2 separate regions of the Homo sapiens genome follow, and region 2 is linked to region 1. The links are contacts of gene promoters, found by promoter capture Hi-C in blood cells and fetal thymus (Javierre and others, 2016). All regions are on one chromosome and are shown on one strand. The core of a region is centred on a gene start or on the middle of the fragment in contact, and the rest is flanking DNA. Distances in the headings are between cores, read along the strand shown. Region 1 holds the start of BNIP3L (BCL2 interacting protein 3 like). Region 2 overlaps PTK2B (protein tyrosine kinase 2 beta).

Region 1 (3,148 bases), core at 564-3,063:
AAATTAGCTGGGCGGGTGGCAGGCACCTGTAGTCCCAGCTACTCGGGAGGCTGAGGCAGAAGAATCGCTTGAACCTGGGAGGCGGAGGTTGTAGACAGAGCGAGACTCTACCTCAAAAAAAAAAAAAAAAAAAAAAAAATGTCCTCAAAAGAGCAGTAGACAGGCTGAACATGAGAACCTCTGCTTTGCTCCCAGCCGGTTGTGAACTTGGACAAGGCCATTTACTCTAGACCTGTTTCTCTACAGGCAAACAACAGGAGGCAGTTAGCTAGCTCTGAAGTTTCTTCCCATTCTAAAATCTAAGACAGTATGCTAAACATGGGCAAATAACTTAAAATTGCATAGGAATATGTGATACAAGTAACGTTTAAAGACTCATACATTCATCCTAATTTACTGTGGGAAATAATATAACCATCTTACATTCTGGAATATATGACACTTAAAGGTTTTGGGAATTAACCCATCAAAACCTGGAGCAGCAGCATCCATCTTAAAATCTCCAAACTCCATCGCTACCTGGTGAGGGCTGAAACTCTCTTCCCTAAAATAATCTTCAGGCCACACTGGAAGCACCTCCCTCTTACGAAAGATACTGCATGACCTTTAAGCATCCAAGTGGTTTTGAAAAGACTTCATCTGGCCATATGCTCACTGCTCCCATTACCTCTTTCCCAAGAGTTGAATTAAAGAAAGGTTAGGCAAGAACCCTTCCAAGAAGGCTCCCGGTTCTCACGACTAGGAACAATCTGAGGACAAGATGTCTGGGCAGCGGAATGTTATGAAAAGACCCTGGCCTGGGTTGTCTATCAGCCTCGTCCGTTAACTTTCAACTGCCCGAGTGCGTTTTTAATTCCGTTTCTTTAAATGCATGGCCCCAGACTCCCTGACGTGTGCAATCTTGGGTGGTTCAGGAGGCTGCTCTCAGCTTTACTGGGCGCACAACCCATCGCTTTAAAAAAAAAAAAATCACTTGGGCAACTTCGAGAAATCTAATAAAAAAATAAAAAAGGAAAAAGGAGAAGCAAGGCACAGCCTCTCACCCCACACGTGACTGAAGCCAACCCTAGACGAGCAAATGAATTTTCCTGACAAACGTGTGGCAACAAAGGAATGCTCGCTGGGGGGCTCCCGCGCCCGCCAGACGCTGCCCGCCCGCGAGCCCCGCACACCTGATCCCCGACACGTCCCGCGGCAGCCGCCCGCCCCGCCCCGCTCCCGCGCGTCCATCCCCCGGCGTCCCCGCCGCACGTCCCCATCCCGGCCCACGTCCCCTCCGCGGCCCGCTCCGCCCACCCGGCCTCCCCGCCCCCCAGGCCCGCCCCCGCCCCGCCCCGCCCGGCTCCGCTGCTGGGGACCACCCCCCGCACCAGGGGGATCCGCGCTACCCGCGCCGCTCCCGGACCGCGAGCCCAAACGGCCCCGGGCCCAAGACCCCAGGAGGCAACAGAGAGGCCCGGAGCAAGGCAGGCGCCCCTCCTCTTGACAGGGGACGGGAGCTGTCAGTCACCTGGACATCCCATGCCTGAGCCAATGAGCTGCCTTCTCCTCCCGCCTCCCGCGCCGCGCCGGTGGCGGCGGCCGGGGCTGCTCCTCCTCCCCCATCCCCTTCACAGAGCCTCGGCCCCGCACTCACTGTTGAGGCCGGCCGGCGGGGGCAGAGACTGCTCATTTTCCTCGCAGTTGTTGTTGTTGTTGTGCAGGGGCGGCGGCGGCTCGACTAGGTGGGACGACATTGTCGGACAGCTGGCAGGACTGCGGCAGCAGCAGGACCGTCTCCGGCACTCAGGCAGCAACACAACAAGCCGAGTCCGCCGCCCCCTTTTCTGCGCCTGCGCCGTCCCTCCCCTGCCCCTGACGTCAGGGCCCGCCCAGGCCACGTGATGACAACACAACAAGCGACCGGACGGGGCAGGGGCGCTCCCCTGCGGGCCCCGGACGTGGAGACGCTCGAGTCAGGCTGACGCGCGCGCCGGGAACGAACTCTTGCGTGTGACTTGGGATGACCGGATGGGATGAGTGATGCCAGTGGCAGTGGGAGAGAGGATGAGGAGAAACGGAATGAGGAAGTGCGCTCCTGTGTTCGCGCCCGTGCCTCCTCTCACACAGGCTCCACAGTGCTTCACCCAGCCCTGCGCACGCATCTGTTTTCTACCTCTTAGGACTCACTTCTGCAATAGGTGTCTTGGGGACACAAAGGAATCCCCAAACCCAGGTGCCTCCACGTGTAAACTCCAAATAAAGCTGCTGAAACATCAACACTCCATACGGGAAACAAGGGAAGGCCGCCCCCAAATTTAATTGTTACAGAATTTTTAAAATGTCGATTACAAACACACCATCATTCTGAAAAAAAGAGAAAGAAGAAAGGGGAAGAAAGAAAAAAGAAAAATTCAGGAAAACAGAGAGAAGAAAGTACTCACCCAAATCCCATCGACTAATCGATTTCTGGGACATGACGTGGGAAGCCGTTTATCCTGTACGTGGATGACATTAAACTATGTTCCTGAGCACACCTCCTACTTCACATCTCCATGTCTTCGTCCAGTCTCCTTGGTCTGATTTATGAGTGACATATGTTTCTCGCAGTCTCTAACTTGTCTTTTAATTTGTTTTTTTCACTCTGTAGAAGCTTAAGGTTTTCATGTAATCAGATTTATCATTCTTACATGGCTTGGGGAGACAGTCACACCAAGATTACTAATCTATAATTCCCTTATAACTTTTTCTAATTTTCTTATAGGCTTAACTTTACATTTAGAGCTCTAATCCATCTGAAATTTATTTTCCATATGCTGTAAATTATTTAACTTCAATTCTTCCCAATTTTGTAGCCCATTGACCTAATAATATTAATTTTAAGCCATCCTTTCTACACTGATTTGAAATTGCACCTTTGTCACTCTCTGAATGACCACAAAAATGTGAGTCTGTTTCAGGGCTATCTGCAATACCTCTGTTAGATAACTATTAAAGTTTCTCTTCCTTTGTCTTTTTCAGATGTTAATGGCTAGTTACTCTTCAGATGAACTTAAAAATGGACTTGTCCAAGATTGACCTTGTGTTGGTAATTATTGAAGCTATGTAATACATTAAAGTATTCCTCTAATTTTTTAATATATTTGAAAAAGTCCATGCTAAAAGGTTT
Region 2 (3,490 bases), core at 229-2,728, 1.0 Mb before region 1:
TCTAGTGAGCCTATGGCCCTGAGGCCCCTGGACATCTTTGGCGATCATGATGTGTCCACGCAGGTTCATGGACTGTGACAAATGCGCCACTCTGGGGGGTGAGGGATGTTGATAGTGGGGGAAGCGGTGCTTGTGTCAGGGCAGGGTGCATGTGGGAACACTCTGCACTTTCGGCTCAATTTTGCTGTGAAACAAAAACTTCTCTAAAAATAGTCTATTAAGAAAAAAATGTAGCAATGAGAAACCACACCCTGATAGTTGTCCTCCCATTCCGCAGCCTGGCTGGGCAGGGTCTAGCCCACTCAGGAGCCAACTCCCATATCGGTCCTGACCAAAGAGAAAGATTCACACTGTACATCAGACCCAATGCAGCCCACCCAGACACATCATCAGCGTGCTTGGAGGACTCTGGTGTCTTATCTTCCTCACTCTCCCTTGGCCCCTGATTCAAGAGCCACTAACTGCAGTCACCAACATAGCTCAAGGAGAAATATTTCAGCAGTCATTTCTGTCACCCAGAATCTACCTCTACCTTCAGCCTGATGCAAGTTCCTCAGTTCTCCCTTTAGCCCTTTGCAGCAGAAACATCTGCTGTGGATGCTCATTCCAAAAGTAATTACAATTTAAAAATCTATACAGAAACACAAGTTCTTTGCACAACAATCTGCTGCCCAATCCTGGGAGGTGGGCAGGAGTGAAGATGGCCATTTTACAGATGGTGACACACTCAAAAAGGTCTAAGCCATTTGGTCAAGGATTCATGCCTGCTAAGTAGCAAACTTAGATCCCAAACCAGGTTTTAATCAAAACCCACAGTTTCTCCCACTTCCCCAGCTGCCTTGGAAGAAGGTGAAATCCCCTAAGGGCGGCACAAACTCCACGAAAGATAAAGATGACAATTAGCATCGAATATTCCCAGTCAGTGAAGAATCCAGAACCTCTCCTGGCTTAGAGATAATCACCCTTCTTGTGCCAGGACTTTGTCTTGAGAGGTCCTAGACGGACTCAACACTAGAATATAGGTTTGATCAAAAGCCTCAGGCCCAGGAAGGTGGTGCCCATGTCTCTATTGACACATGGCAACTTCCTCAAGTGCACCCAAAACTCTGAGCTGTAGACACAGATCTGTAATGAACACTCAGAACTCTTTGAAGCAAAGTAAATGAACGGTTCCATGAAAGGAAGGCATCTGCCACCCCTCTTCAGGTTCTTGAGAGAACATAGCTCTCAATTCCATGCCATCTTCCCTTGCGCTCACCCTGCCTGTGTTCTGCTCCCAGCTCATTTTCTGACTGGCTCTAAAATCTTGTGCAAGTAACTTTACCTATCCCAGCCTCATTTTCCTCCCCTATAAAGTAGGGTAATGCTGCCTACCCTGTTTTCCTCATAGAAGGGTGGTGAAGATGAAGTGAGAAAACATAAGTGAGAGTTCCTCGTAAGCAATAAAGTGGGACACCAGTGAAAGGCTCTATCATCATGACTATTTTCACTTGCCTTTTTTCCAAAATCTTGTCTGATGACCTGTATTCCCTGTATCTTGCTCCTCCTGTCAGTAGTGCTCCAGAAAAAAAAAAAAAAAAGCTCGCTTTGTAGAACTTGCCAATTTCCGTAGTGTAAAAATTCCCACCATGACTGACCTTCAGGTACCAATGCACATCACCACTGAATGCTGAGTTGGGAAGAGATGAGAACAATCTGCTGACTCCAGCTCTTCTTCTTGATGATAGAACTTGTTCACGCCTCTAAATATTGTCTGATTATTTGAACTACTCGTCAATAGCCTATCTCTGGCCTTTAATGATCACAAAATCCTCTGATGCTCAACTCATGAGCCAAAAACTCTGCCCCTTTCTCCAGACCTTCCTGGCTCTCCAAGCCCTGGCATTCTGTCCTCCCTGCTTCCTGGTCTGCCCCAGACCGTCGGAGCAGAGTCAGAGGAGACTACATCCTGTGGCACCAGTGAAAACCCTGGCTCTGAGCCATCCTGGGCTTCGGTTTGCCTCCTGGCCCCCAAATCTGCCACAATCAAAGTCAAAGAATAACAAACACAAGAAATGGGCTCAAATTAAAACAGGAAAACTTCTGATTGTCTGTAAGAACTTCTTGGCCAAAATCTGCAAAGGGTACTACAGGAGGATGGACAATCTCTGAGTTCTTAAGATCTTCAGGAAGAAAATAAATTATGCTCTTCCTGAATGGCAAGACATTGACCTGCCTGCAGGAGGGGGAACTGAAGCAGCATTTACGTCCCCTCCAGATGCACCAGGTTGTAACTGCACCTAGTACTGTGCCCCTGGCACAGGGGAGATGCTAGGGTTACAGGAATAAATATCACAGGAAAACTTAACTCTTGCCTTTGAAGACATTGTAGGGTAATGTTACACATGTTGTGTTCAGTAAACAGCTTAGCCTCTTGGGGAGGCAGACACCAGAGGGGATGCTGAGAGTCCCAAACATAAAATGCATGGTCTTGAGGACTGAAAGTTCTGTTCCTGGCTGGGTGCAGTGGCTCACGACTGTAATCCTAGCATTTTGGGAGGCTGAGGTGGGCAGATCACTTGAAATCAGGAGTTTGAGATCAGCCTGATCAACATGGTGAAACCCCTTCTCTACTAAAAATACAAAAATTAGTTGGGTGTGGTGGCACGTGCCTGTAATCCCAGCTACTCGGGAGGCTGAGACAAAAGAATCCCTTGAACCCGGGAGACGGAGCTTGCAGTGAGCCGAGATTGCACCGAGCCGAGATTGCACCATTGCACTCCAGACTGGGGGAAAAGAGCGAAACTTCACCTCAAGAAAAAAAAAAAAAAGGTTCTGTTCCTGATTTGAGAGAGAGTGGAAAGGGGCCCATTAGTCAGAAAGGCCGTATGATGTCAGGGAGAAGGCGCGTACATTTAACTCATTCAAACCTGGATTTAAACCACTTTCTTCAGGGCTGGTAAGCCATACAACTGGGCCATTACGTGAGTGTGACAACATGGCAGCCTTGAGTCTCTGCCATGGACCCGTTGTGTGATCTGGACAAGATAATCTCTGTAGGCCTCAGTTTCCTCCATTGGGGCATGAGGTCACTATTACTTATCCTGCAGAATTTTCTGGAGTATCAGAGGTTACTTCCATTACTTCTGCAAACTCCTTGGCACATACATTTTTTAAGTGTCTGTGACTTGGAAGAAGAGAGAATTAGAAACATAATACTAAGACCCACTTTTTAATTCTGAAATTTAATTTTAATTATTATTAATTTTTAGAGATAGGGGCTTGCTCTGTTGTTCAGGCTGGAGTTCAGGGATGTGATCATATCTTACTACAGCCTCAAACTCCTGGACTCAGGTGATCCTCTTGCCTTGGCCTCCCAAGTAGCTGGGACTACAGGTACATGCCACCATGCCTAGTTCAATTTTTTATTTTTATTTTGTATAGAGATAGGGTTTCTCTATGTTGCCCAGGCTGGTCTTGAACTCCCGGCCTCAAGTGATCCTTCCTCCTC

What was found. The method cuts DNA at HindIII sites, captures the fragments that hold promoters and counts their contacts. A CHiCAGO score of 5 or more calls a contact.
Region 2: a fragment that was not itself captured here is called in contact with the fragment with the promoter of BNIP3L in region 1 in 1 of 17 cell types (neutrophils); the score reaches 6.9 in neutrophils.

Annotation. Positions count from the first base shown.
Region 1 is chr8:26,381,719-26,384,866 of GRCh38, reverse strand. It overlaps BNIP3L (BCL2 interacting protein 3 like), which reads right to left and starts at 1,813. Exons shown (of 6, transcript NM_004331.3): 1 at 1,637-1,813. The coding sequence starts at 1,736. It also overlaps the pseudogene SDAD1P1. RefSeq lists a silencer at 1,064-1,653 and enhancers at 1,864-2,163, 2,137-3,148. The HindIII fragment of the contact is 3,600 bases long and covers 1-2,634 here.
Region 2 is chr8:27,390,401-27,393,890 of GRCh38, reverse strand. The region is part of intron 1 of PTK2B (protein tyrosine kinase 2 beta); the gene reads right to left. Among named protein-coding and RNA genes, the nearest start is that of MIR6842, 41 kb to the left of the region's middle. RefSeq lists enhancers at 581-720, 1,033-1,162. The HindIII fragment of the contact is 4,590 bases long and covers 1-3,490 here.